Regions from separate parts of the Homo sapiens genome. Here all the other regions are linked to region 1. The links are contacts of gene promoters, found by promoter capture Hi-C in blood cells and fetal thymus (Javierre and others, 2016). All regions are on one chromosome and are shown on one strand. The core of a region is centred on a gene start or on the middle of the fragment in contact, and the rest is flanking DNA. Distances in the headings are between cores, read along the strand shown.

The links. Contacts are between HindIII fragments. The CHiCAGO score rates a contact against its expected background, and 5 or more counts as called.
Region 2: a fragment that was not itself captured here is called in contact with the fragment with the promoter of EFR3A in region 1 in 1 of 17 cell types (M0 macrophages); the score reaches 5.6 in M0 macrophages.
Region 3: a contact is called between a fragment that was not itself captured here and the fragment with the promoter of EFR3A in region 1, in 1 of 17 cell types (monocytes). The highest score is 7.3, in monocytes.

Annotation. Positions count from the first base shown.
Region 1 is chr8:131,901,816-131,906,288 of GRCh38, forward strand. It overlaps EFR3A (EFR3 homolog A), which reads left to right and starts at 2,278. Exons shown (of 23, transcript NM_015137.6): 1 at 2,278-2,507. The coding sequence starts at 2,498. RefSeq lists a silencer at 2,175-2,654 and an enhancer at 3,225-3,274. The HindIII fragment of the contact is 8,534 bases long and covers 1-4,473 here.
Region 2 is chr8:131,025,008-131,029,480 of GRCh38, forward strand. The region is part of intron 1 of ADCY8 (adenylate cyclase 8); the gene reads right to left. Among named protein-coding and RNA genes, the nearest start is that of ADCY8, 14 kb to the right of the region's middle. The HindIII fragment of the contact is 1,889 bases long and covers 800-2,688 here.
Region 3 is chr8:131,316,240-131,320,712 of GRCh38, forward strand. IADEN (IGF2BP1 associated definitive endoderm lncRNA) reads left to right here. Exons shown (of 2, transcript XR_007061185.1): 2 at 1,095-1,648. Among named protein-coding and RNA genes, the nearest start is that of IADEN, 6.0 kb to the left of the region's middle. The HindIII fragment of the contact is 5,241 bases long and covers 1-4,473 here.

The DNA.
Region 1 (4,473 bases), core at 1,028-3,527:
GGGACCAAAGATTTCCAAATCTCCCACCCTGAGGTCCCTCAGCCCACCTTCATCCTGGCTTGCCCAGCTGCCTTCAGATTCATTCACTCGGATGTCTCCCTCTGATACCACCTCAAGCTCAATATGTCAAGGAGAAACTCACACCTTTCTTCACACCCCTTCCCTAAAACAGCATTTCTTCCTGACTGGTCTACTGCTCTCCAGCACCACCACTTTCCTTGTTCCAACCTTGGAGTTACATAACTAACAGATGCCTCTCTATTGCTCCCAAGTCAGCAGCCAACAAATCCAGGGATTCTTTTCCAAAGTAAGATTCAGTTCTTTCTTTTTCCACAGCCACCACCAAGACTGAGCACCTAACACTCTCTCCTGTATTGGGGCCTTCCGATTTGGCTGCCTACCTCCACAGTTTCTCTGCCACACCATTCCCCCTGCAAGGCCCTGCTTCTGATAATTTAATGTTACTGTTATGCTTTTTGTAAAAATCACAGAACAGTTTCTTAAAAGACAAATTCCAAGGTTGAATGTAAAGTTGTTTATCAGTTTTATTTACCTGTTTTTGTTTTCATACTCTTGAATAAAATCCTTTATTTATATATTGAATTAATATACTCTGGCCCCCACCTGTGTGCCAGCCAAGGATACATAAACATGAACAGAATATGGCTTTTGCCATTTTCTGAAAAGCAAATAGGCCCATGGTAAAACACAAGCACTCATGACAGTTTATTTAGGATGCAGTGAGAAAAGTGCTGTAGCAGAGAGGAATCAAGATAATGCCAAAGTCTTAGGGAGAAAACTGGAAGCATGAAAGATTTTATAGGTGATAAAATATGCAACAGGGCATTAAAACATGAATAAGCACTAGGTAGTTTGGTCTTTACTGTTAGCAAGGGACAGTCTCTCTTTTTTTTTTTTTTTTTTTGAGATGGAGTCTTGCTCTGTAGCCCAGGCTAGAGTCCAGTGGCCCGATCTCGGCTCACTGCAAACTCCGTCTCCTGGGTTCAAGCGATTCTCCTTCCTCAGCTTCCCAAGTAGCTGAGTGAGAATATAGGCATGTGCCACCACCCCCGCCTAATTTTTGCATTTTCAGTACAGACAGGGTTTCGCCATGTTGGCCAGGCTGATCTCGAACTCCTGACCTCAGGTGATCTGCCCACCGCCCACCTCGGTCTCCCAAAGTGTTAGGATTACAGGCGTGAGCCACCGTTCCCAGCTGGACAGTCTCTTTTATAGGTACAGTACACACTCTCCTCTCCCCAGCTGCCATGACTCACTCTAAATTACCCTTCATCCTCTCCCCAGCCTCTTTTAGGACTCCCCTAGGCTTTGCTAATTCAAATTCTGCTTTCTTCCAAGTCCACCTCAAGCCAAGACTAATTTCTCCTCAGCGCTTCCTAGCTCTGATCTTCATGTTCTTCATCTTCTCCTCCCAGTACTGCACAATATCATTTCTTAATCAGAAGGTTAGCCCTACTTTTTAGGACAAAGGTTCTCAGTATTATCATTGTATTTAAATCATCTGTATATGTGTTCGTAGATTTGGCTCAGCACCTAGGAATCTGCTTTTCAACAAGTCCCCAGGGGATCCAAGCACAAAAGGATCCTGGACCACTTTGACCCACTTTGAGGAAGGCTGTGTTAAACCTCTGCGGTTGGCTTTTATATCTCCATATGGGCTGTCCGCAGCCCACGGCGCCTAGCATAGTGTAGGTGCGTTGCTCAGCTCTCTGGCTCCCGGTGTCTGCTCAGCTTGGTGACTATTAGATACCTCAATTATTAATGACACCCAGAGTCAAGAAGAGTAGCTCAGCCAAGTGCACAGAGCTGCCCTCTCCAGAGGAGACTAACTCCTGAGGGATAAGGTCGCTCTGAAAGTCACAAGAGCAAAAGGAAATTACATTTTCTGCCCTCTCAAAAAATGAGCAGCCATCACCCCAAATGACCTTAGTGCATCTCAAATAAACCATGCTTTCAGAGTATGCAAAACGCACTGCAAGTTAAACCGATTGCAAAAGAAAAAGCCCACAGGTACTCCGTGCGCTCAAAGCCATCATCCTCACAAACGTAAAGTGATGCACTCCAAATAGAGATCAAGGAAAACGAATGCCACGCAGGTCACCAGGCTTGGAAAATAGAAGGCACCCGAAGTTGTTCTACGTGGCTGTCCCCAGCCACCCATTCCACCCGCTCGACAAGGGATCCTGGGCCGAGCCCGGCCATCCGCGGGGGCGGGGCCGGGACGGCGGCGGCGCGCTGACGTAACGGGCGTGGGTCGTCCGTCGCGCCGCCCGGCGAGGAGTGGGCTGGCGGCGGTAGCTGTCGCCCGCTTGGTTGCGTGACCGCGGGGTCCGCGTCCGCTCCCTCCACCCTTCGCCCTTCGCCCTTCGCCTCGTTCCGGCCTCCGCGGCCCAGCAACGGCCGTCATGGTGCCGTCGGCGCTCCCTGCGCGGCCCCGCTGAGCCTCGGTGCGGCGGCGAGCGCGGTCGAGATCGCCATGCCTACCCGTGAGTGGCCGGCCGAGGGCCGGGGGCGTTGGGAGGCGACTGCCTGCGCGACGCGCTTGGGCCGGGTACTCCTCCCGGGCGGCTGGGGAGGCTGGGCCGCGCTGAGCAGAGCCAGGAAGTGTCTGCGAGCGGCGGAGTTAGTTTCGTTTCGGCTTAGCCTTCCGGAGATGGCGTGAGCCCGTTGCACGGATCGGGAAACTGAGGCCCGAACGTTAAGGGAACTGCGGGGACGCGCTGTTAGGAGGCGGCAGAGCTGGTGGTAACCTGACCCGTGGGATTTCAAAGTTAAAGCCCTTTTCCCACGGCCACACGGCTTCGTGGGACTTTATGGAAATATTGAAAATAACTGCGGTACCATTGTCAGTCCCTTCTCACCTCGGGCCGGACGTCGCTAGTGGACGCGCCGGCCCCGAGTCCCTTCCCGCGGCCGCCAGACAGACCCCCGACAGCCTAACTCGGCGTCCGTATCGCCGTCGGGGCGGCTGAAGTCGGAGCTTTCTGTGGAGCTTGTTAGGCAGAGGCACCTCGACTGTGGCTTTTGGACCACACTTCGGATTCACCCGGGCAGATGATTAAAAATGCCGGTTTCGGGACCCGCCCTATTCCCATGGAATTAGTCTGGAGCTTGGGCCCCGGAGTCTGCATGTCTAATAAGCGTCCCTGGGGTTACCAAGGCACCCCAAAGTTTAAAAGTCACTCGGTGTTGGAGGATTTTTAGACAGACGCGATACTACAAGTACTGCTAATGACCTATTTTAAAATGACCCAGATAATCGCAGTGTGACTTTATAGCCACTGGTCAATGTGGATATGTGCAAACTAGGGAAGCTCCTGATCTTGGGTAGAGAGGAAGCAACTTTGTCATTGATTTGAGAATTCAAGTAGGACTCCTTTGACTAAGTGTTCAATACTATAGAATCTTTACACACTTGTGAATATATTTCCTAGAATTCATAACTACTTCTAGTTGTCCTTGTTTTGTAGCCATCTGGGACGCTGAATTTCCAGGTCAGTCTCCAATGCACGTTTCGTCTAGTGGTGGGAAAAGATGAGTTATTTCTTGATATTATAAAGATTGATATTTTCCTGATATTTAAGGATATTAAATTTAAATTGATATTAAAGATATTTAAATATCTTTTTGAGATTTAAAGATTTTCCTGTGGCAAATCTTTACATAGTCCTGATGTAGAGATTACTTTTAACTCCTCATACATGTGTGGGTACTGTGGATTTTGTTTTCTTCACACACTACTGTGTGTCCTTAACTCACGTTCTTGGACTTCGCATCCAGTAAATATGTCCAGTTTAAATTTCTGTTTTATTCCTTTTGGCTGGAGGAATATCATTTACAATCATCTTCATTGTTATTGCCAGTTTAGTACTTCTAAATTCATGTTCACGTTATTCAGTGAATATCTGAGACTAGCACTATGCTAATCTTTTATTTTCTGAGAAACCAAAGGGGAGGAGGTAAGCACCTATTGAAAGTTGAGGCTTCAAGTAGAATTTATTGGTAACATGCCAGAATTATCCTGTGAAATAAAATTTTTAGTTATGTTCTAGGGTTATCTAGCTTCACAGAGTGGATATAGTAAACTCGTTTCTTTTCAAATGTTGAGTTCATTCTGCAAAATGATTTTAGGATGGGCCATGGTGGAGTTTACATAGTTAAGAATGCAGATTTCACACCCTGACTGGAAGACAAGTGAAATGTTTGTTTTATCTGTCATTGTTAATATTTGTCATGGTACATTTTTTATGACTGAATAAAAATGTGCTGTGGATTGATTGGGGGTACCAGTGTGAGGTGAATAGTGTTCATATTTGCCTTTTCTCTCCTTTGGCAGTCACAGCTGCCGAAATTGCTGGGATAGTGCAGTGGACAACAATATTTCTTTGAAATTCTGTTTGTAGAATATATATCCAACACAGAGATGGCAAAATTGTTATTCTCTGTAGGAAT
Region 2 (4,473 bases), core at 494-2,993, 880 kb before region 1:
TCAGAAATCATTTCATAGTCATAGAATTTTAGAGCTATCAGAAACTCATTTTGAAGCCAAGACAGGCTGAGTGGCTTGAAGAAAGTTGCACTGTTTTGTATGTAAAATCTGAGGTGGGTCTTTTGATGACCCTTTATTCAGGTGTTGTTTTCAATACAGTGTGCTTATCCCCTTGGCTCTATCTATGATAGTGATAACTATCATGATAAACATTGCTACTATTTGCAAGGTACATTTCATTTTTCTTTTTCTTTATTAATCTTATTGCCTCTGAAATGAGCATAGTTATTGAGATAAAGTGGCCTTAAAGAAGCATCAAATCTAGAGGGCAGCTTTGGAATCAGATAGCTGTGGATGAAATCTCGTATTCATCATATGACCAAAGGGAAATGCTGTAACAACTCTGTGTTCAGCATCCTCAACTATAAAAAGGGAAACAGCAATACTGATGCGAATATGATTGTTCAGGCATTTACTCAACAAGCTTCTGATATGAGATTCCCGCGTGATGTGCCAGTGTCCATTCCGGTGATATACAAAAGGACAGACCCTGCTCTCAAAGAGCACGTTGTTTAACAGTAGAGACAAATAAATAAAACATAATTCCAATCTTACCTGCTAACATGAATTCTTCCTGTAGATATTAAGAATAATTTCCTCATCTCAGGTCTAGTCAGGATTTTCCTTTTAAATAGAAATGAGTGCAAGCTGAATGCCTAGAGCACACAATTTCAGGAATTATTCCTTCGCAGGGTTGCACAAGTGCAGGGTCAGCCCCTGAGAACAAGTGCTTCTTGTAAGCTTTGTACCCTGGATGCCTCACTTTTCTCAACTAATCATGGCCCCACATCAAACCTGCTTTAAAAGTCCTTAACTCAGTTTGAAATCATTCACTTATTTAGGTGATTATTTGATGGATGACTGTCTATAACTCTAGATTATAATCTCTTTAATAGCAGGATCCTGGATTCTTTTCCTCACCACAGCACCCCTACTGCCTGCATGCAGCACACTGTGGTACTCCATAAATATTCGCCATATGAGGCTAAATGAAAGCATGCATTAATGAATGATGGAAGAATGTTGCTATGGTCTGAATGTTTGTGTCCCTCCAAAATACACATGTTAAAATGCTAACCCTAAGGTGATGGAATTAAGAGGTGGGAGGTGAATGTGTCATGAGGGTGGAGCCTTCATGAATGGGATTAGTGTCTAGAAAAAAGGCCTCAGAGAGCTGCCTTGTCTCTTTCATCCTGCAAGGACACAGTCGGAAGATGGCCATGTGAACCAGGAAGCAGGCCCTCACCAGGCACCAAATCTACTGGTGCTTAGATTTTGAGCTTCCCAGCCTCCAGAACTATGAGAAATAAATGTTTTTTTTTGTTTGTTTGTTACAAGTCAGTCAGTTATGGTATATTGCTATGGAAGCCTGAATGTTCAATAATATAAGTGAATTAGAGGACAGGGATCTAAATCTACCTGGTGGAGTAGCAGGGACCCACTGAAGAGAAGGTGGGGTCTGTGCCAAACTCCAAAGCCTTTCCCACAAATTATGATCTGCAGACTGCAAGCATCCATTACCTGGCAACTTGTCAGAAACACAGAACCTAGGGTCCTCCTCCTAAATCCAAATTTTGTCAAGATCTCCAAGTGATTCCTATTCACATTAAAGTTGGAGAAGCACTGGTCTAAAAGATGCAGGGGTTAAGCCAGGTGAAGCCCAGAAACTGTCAGCTTAGGGCAGAGAACTCATTGAAAAAGGGTGATTGTTTTAAAACTTAAATTATAAAATCAAATGAAATGTATTACCTGATTCCTCTTTACCAGGTTCTGATTTAAATACTCCATGTGTATTATTTCATCTCTTCAACAACCTCCTGAGCTATTATTATTATTCCCATTTTACAGCTGAAGAAAGTGAGGTGCAGAAAGATTGAGGCTCTTGTCAGTGTTATAAAATGAAAAAATTGCAGATCAATCCCAGGCAGTCTGAATCCACATCCTGTGCTATGAACTCTATGCTTTTTTCTTTCCTTGGGAAGTGTGTTAAGTTTGGCATATAGCAATCTCCAATACAGTTCTGTCTCATTGAGAGTCATGCTTGAAGGACTGCTCATTTTTTTGTCAAATTCTGCTTATCTCTCTGCCCCTCCTTTCCTTAAACACCTAACATGAGCTTAGATTATCAAAGTCAAACAAACACAATTCTCCATTTAAACACACCCCACTTATTCTTAAGCAGGTACTTGTCCCGGAGAAGGGGTACAGAAGGAATTCCAGGAAGTGGTGACACTTGAATATTGCCAGGCAAGGAAGGTAAACAATTGTCCTAGAAAACACACACAGGCAGAAGCCAGCATGGAATATGAAGAAAACTGGTGATGAGGTTCAACAGTAGAACTTACCCAGTGAAGTGAAGTGGTGAGAATGCTAGCATATGGGAGAAGCTCCCACTGGGGAGTGTTGGGGTGGTTCAGCGGAGCATGGGGTGGCTTGATGAATCTTGGGGGTGGGGCTGCACTAGAACAGAAAGAGCAGGATAGAGAGCTGTGGACAGACCCCAGCAATGGAAGACTAAACCATCAGAATTTCATGTAGATATCAGACGGGATGGAGTCAATTGTTACTTGTTGGGGTTGGGCTGCCTCAATGGAGGTATCCAGTAGGTCTCCAGATTGCCAGGTCTTAAGCTTAGCAGATAAAACTGGGGTAGAGATACAGGGTTAGGAGTTAGCAGCACAAAGATACATACTTGCTGACTGAGGGAGGGATTTGATTATCCAGGGAGTGGTGTGGAGTGAGATAATGTGAAGTCATATAGGACGGAAACTTCAGGAGCCCCAACATTGAAGAGGTGAATTGAAAAACAAGACCTGGAGGAACCTGAGAAAGAAGAGTATGTAACCAGCACTACACTATGCTGTAGAGACTTAACAGTGACCCAGATGCCACCCCAGACTTTGTGAAGCTCACAGCCCAGCTGGTGAGAGAGATGTGGAAGCCAATAGCACTGCAAAATGAGGCAGGATAAATGGGCAGGTAAAGGGCCATGCCCTCAGAGGAGGAATATCTAACTGGGTCAGGAGTGTTGAACTATCCTTCTTTTAGACATGAAGAAATTTTGGCCCAAAGAAGCTGAAGCCAAAGTTGCTGTGAAAAACCCATAGCAAAAACAGGAGGAGAATTTGTGTTTTCTATGTTTTTAAGGAAATATACTTACATGGTTTCAAAAATATCTTTCATTGTCCATTGGCACAGCTTCTCTCTGGCTGAGATGGCTTGGGCAGGGCCCAAAGAGCTGCGTATCATGTCATAATTCACCTGGCAAGAGCCAAGGGCAATATATCTCTCATAAATAGAAAAGAGGAGACTTTGTAGTCACTGCACATTGACCACTTGGGGCCATGAACTCATTCTCAAATGAACTACCCGCCTCCAATAGGCTGGGAAGGCTCACCCGATGAATGAGGGTGTGGGAGATTTGACTTTAGAAGAAAACCAGCTTGCTCTTAGTGATTTTTTTTCTTGAACTAATTAGCAGAAAAAAAAAAAGAACTAAAAAGACTCATGACCGTTTTTGGGACTTTATAAAGACAGTTTTAGTTAATTGCTTTGAGTTCCATTCTCTAAAATCTGACTTTGGTTTGCTTTTTAGAAGTCTGTAGATAAACTGGTCCAGTTAGGGTACAATATGGTCTTTATGTGACAGGTTTTAAGCTGTAGGAAACAGTGGACTAAGCACCTATCCATTTTTTACGCTTAGGAAAGTCAACCTGCTTTGTCCGATATCTTCCCCTAAGGAGTGAGGCCTACCAGCCCCTCGGGTATGGAGTACCAGGAGTCAAGTGGAAGTGTGGGAGTACCTCCTGCCCCCAGCTGTACCTGTATGTACCCAGATGGTGAGCACCCACCAGAAGGGGGCACCACTGAGACGTCAAGCCCAGGAAGTGATTTCCAGTGTGCTTGCACAGCAGGTTGTGGGTTGCACAGCAGCAAGTGAGAGGCAGGGCAAATGAGTGAAGCTGCATCTGTATTTACAGCCACTCCCCATCGCTTGCATTACCGCCTGAGCTCTGCCTCCTGTCAGATCAGTTGCCAGTGGTGGCATTAGATTCTCATAGGAGTTCAAACCCTATTGTGAACTGCACATGCGCGAGATCTAGACTGCAAGCTCCTTATGAGAATGTGATGCTTGATGATCTGTCACTGTCTCCCATCATCCCCAGATGGGACCATCTAGCTGCAGGAAAACATTATGGTGTGACTTGTACAATAATTTCATTATATATTACAACGTAATAATAACAGAGATAAAATACACATAAATGTAAAGCTCTTGGATCCTCCCAAAATCATCCCCCACCCATGTCTGTGGAAAAATTATCTTCCATGAAACCATTCCTTGGTGCCAAAAAGGTTGGGGACTGCAGCTATAAAAGCAAAGAACTCCAGAGCTGGGTATAGAGATTCAGA
Region 3 (4,473 bases), core at 1,338-3,837, 590 kb before region 1:
AGTTCAGTATTTGCTCTGCATAGACAGAGATGTATAGTTGTACCTAATTCTTTATTTTTGATCCTAAAAGTCAGTCGTGCTAAGTAACTAGTTACATACATTTAGTGCTAGCACACACATTTTTAGTTATAGTCTTTAGAAAAACTATAAGCTGTGTTTGAATTATGCTTCAACCACTAACTTTGTGACCTTGGCTAAATCACATAAACTCCCCATATCACTTTCCTTAGTCTTAAATAAAGATAACACACAGTGAGTGCTCAGGAAATACCAACTCCTCTTTACCCCCGTACATACTGCTCAGCCTGAACGTTGCATCTTCTGGGCCTTGCTCACTTTTGCCAATGTGTGACTTGCTACAAAAAAATGTGTTCATGGATGATATGTCTTTTCAAAAACCTTCCCTCTATGCCTATCACGCTGGTATTTTTTTAAGCTAGTCTATCACTGAAAATTCACAAACTCATACCTGCCTGTTGAAACTATGTCCTTGCTTCACATTCTAACTGAAGATCTAACTGTGATAAAATATTTTTCACTCTCACTATCCACGTTGTTTTACACATCTACACTGGTGTCTGTCAACTTTGCAACAGAATACACTTATATGTAAACCTCTTTCACTAAACCATGAACCCATAGAGTGCCAACCATTTACAATTAGTGTCAATGTGGAATTTTGTTCTCAACAGATACTGGGTAAATTAAATATTTTATCAAATAATGATCACTGCACCTGAATAGCAGATATGTTGACATTTCCTTTTAAACTGGAGTACATTTATCTCCATTACAGGGACTGTGTGGTCTAACGTTTATAAACACTGTGCATAGCATTGAACCATGAAGTTAACATTTATTAATCAATTTTGAGGCCTTAGTGTATTTCATAGTTTAAATTGGTGTTCTGATCAAAAGAAAATAAGAAAATGGTGGAACAAAAGTTTTAGAAAAAAAGGGTAGGGAAAGAGGAAAGAAGGAAGTAACAAAATGAAGATTCCTAGCCCTATAGCAACAAATATCTAGCAGGTGCTGAATGGTTGTTTTTCGTTTTTTGTTTTTTTTTTGTTTTTTTGTTTTTTTGTTTTTTTCAGAAAAGTAATGGAATGCTACAGCCTAGTCAGTTTTGAGAAAAGGCTAACCAACAACAACAACAACAAATCATAGTCATGCTCAGATTGCACATGAACAAAAAAATGTTGGAGAGAAACCATTGAAATAACTCACCGGTCCTCTTGTGTTGCTGCTTATCTGATTATCTGAGGTCAAGGGAACTGAGGACAACAAAGGAAATTAGGTCTTTCATAGTTCTCATTAAATGCTGGAGGAGTCTGACTACTGCTGAGCTGAGCACTTCAGCGGCTTTGGAAAAGGAAGTGTGGTTACTTATTTCACCACCTTCATTGTGCTGGAGGAAATAAGAAATAGCTCTGAGACTAATAATAACAGAAACGGCATCCACAGCAGCAGAGCCCAGTTGCACTTCCTAAAGGCAGTATAAATAATTAAGTGTCTCTATAGGCAAGCCACTAGGAATAAACGAAAAAGAGCTGCAATTGCTGATGTGGTTTCACCCCAGTCCTGCCCATGTTTCTTAACAGGAAAGGGAGTTGCAATGCCAATAATAAAATCTTAGAGCTGGAAAGAACATTTATTTGCCTGTTTATTCATTCATTTACTCAGTCATTATTGGGCACTTACGGTAGACTAGTCGTTATGTTACCTACTAGGAGCTTGGATATCACCCACTTTTATGTCTTCATTCTTTGAGCGAAGAGCTATCTACATGGTGAGTCCAAAAGTGCACAAGAGGAAACCTGGCTTGTCCAAACCAAGGGCTATAACTTAGTTTCCTAACTGCCCAGCAAAAATATTTTCAGTTAGGCTCCACTTTAACTCTTAAAAATGTGGCTTGTGAATTACTTGATGAATAATTTTACTTTCTTGATTATATTAAGCACAAAAAGGAAGAGAAACACAATTACAATATTAAAATTGTGAAAGGCATCTCACCAAGGTGCTTCTTCTGAGAACTCCATGTCTCCATTGCTTATCTGAAACCTTTATTTTGCTTGGCCTCTGGGTCCCACTGCCTCTGGATTTACTTCTCACCTGCTGACTGCTCCTTCTTTTTTACTTTTTCTGTGTGCTCTCCATCTTCCTGACCTCTTTAATTTGAATGTCCTGGGACTCAGCCCTTTGGCTTCTCTTTGCAATCAGTGCACACACTCTAGATTTACCCATCCAATGCCACAGCCTTAAATAACATCAATATTCTTCTGATGGCTCTCAAAGTAATATATTTTGCTCTGACGTCCCTCTTTAATTCTACATGTATATCAGACTGTCTGTCTATTTGGCAGCCCCAGTGTGATGTTCCTCTAGAATCACTACCTTAACATATGTGAAACAAACTCTTTTCACCCCACCCCTCACCAAAAAAATCTATTTTTTATATACGTATCCATTCAAGAAAAGGAAACCTTCTTTCATTTGCTCGGGTAAAACACTCTGAGTAACCGGTTCCTCTAATTTCTCTATTTCCCATATTCAGTCCATGAGCAAATTTTACAACTGTTAACTTTGAAATAATACACACAGCATCCAATCACTTATCTAAACTCTGTCGCTGCCGCTCGGGTCTAAGCACCATCATGTCTCACCTGGATTATTGTGACAGTCTTCTTAATGGGTTTTCTGCATTTCCTTTTTGCTCCACTGTAGTCTATGCTTCTCAGAGCAGCCTAAGTCAATCCTCTGCTCAAAATGCTCCAATGCACACTGCACTCTATCAAAGCTCTAACTATTGCTAAAATGACCCATTGTCTCCTTTATTCCTGCTACCTCTCAAGTCACATGCCCTATCCCCTATGCCTCCTCCAACTGTCCCTCTGACGCAGCTATCGAGTACCTTGCTGTTCCTCAAACACAGTAAGCACACCCTATCTTAGGGTGTTTGCATTATCTATGCAAAAACACTGCATGGTGTGCTTTTTTTTGCTATGCACCCGCATGGTTTATCTTCACAGAGATCTTGGCTAACACTAGCACCTTTTCATTCTATGGTCCTTTCCTCTGCTTTATTTTTCTCTTTGCACCTTTCACCGTCTGATCCATACTTTTTGATTGTTTTCCCCTCAAGGACATAAGCACCATGACAATAGGAATGTCACTTTATTTATTTATGTCTCCTTCTACGTAAGTGCATTGGCCCCAGAAATCTAGACCTCTAATTATAAAGAGGCCATTTTTTTTTCCTCCAGCTTCAAAATAATTGCACTTCAAAATTGTAATACTTTGTGAACAAAGGAAAAAGATTTAAAATTATGGGTCTAGGGTCAAGGCAATGGTGGAAGATAAAAAGGAAAGATGTTACATTCCTTGGGGGACAAGGTTGGTCTTGAAGAAGAAAGAAAACAATGAGGATGTTGAATGAAGTAAAAAACAATGTTGGCCAGGCGCGGCGACTCACGCCTGTAATCCCAGCACTTTGGGAGGCAAAGGCGGGTGGATCACAAGGTCAGGAGTTTGAGACCAGCCTGGCCAACATAGTGAAACCTCGTCTCTACTGAAAATACAAAAATTAGCCGGGCATGGTGGTGCACGCCTATAGTCCCAGCTACTCTAGGGGCTGAGCCAGGAGAATCGCTTGAACCCAGGAGGCGGAGGTTGTGGTGAGCTGAGATCACGCCACCTCATTCCAGCCTGAGCAGCCAACCGAGACCCCATCTCAAAAAAAAAAAAAAAAAAAAATAATATATATATATATATATATATATATATATATATATATATATATATATATATGTATATGAAAAGAGGACAATATTCCAAAATAAATGTTAATATAATTATTTCCATGAGGCAGTAATTGGAATAATCAAGGGAAATGACTCACAATGAAGGCAGTCATGCCTGTTTGAAGTGGATCTAAGAGTAGAAACAGCAAGCAGGGTGTCTATTTGGGTAATGAGAAGGGAGAAAGTGTTGGTAAACAGAAGGAAGAAAGCTACTAATTTTCCCAGAGTCTGTTTAAGATGAAGTTCTGCTCCAATCAGCTAATTTTAAGAGGTTTTAGATTAATCTTGTTAAACATTTCAGCATGATGGAGTTTGGGATTATTTGATGTAAATAGTTCTTACACAAAATGTAAATGTTATCTTAATAAATATTTTTAAAAAAGGATTTGAGAAAATTCAACAACTATTTCTAATAAAACAAATAAGCATATAATCATTAAAAAATTAAAAAACAATTTTATTTTAAAATATTTTTATTTTAACATTCTTATCAAACTTTAAAAAAAATGTCAGACACCATGGCTCATGCTTGTAATCCCAACTATTTGAGAGGCTGATCAAGGCGTTTGAGGCTGCAGTAAGCTATGATGGGACCACTGCACTCTAGCCTGAGCAACATCATGAGACTCCATCTCTTAAAAAAATAAATGGAAATGACAAGGATAATTGGTTT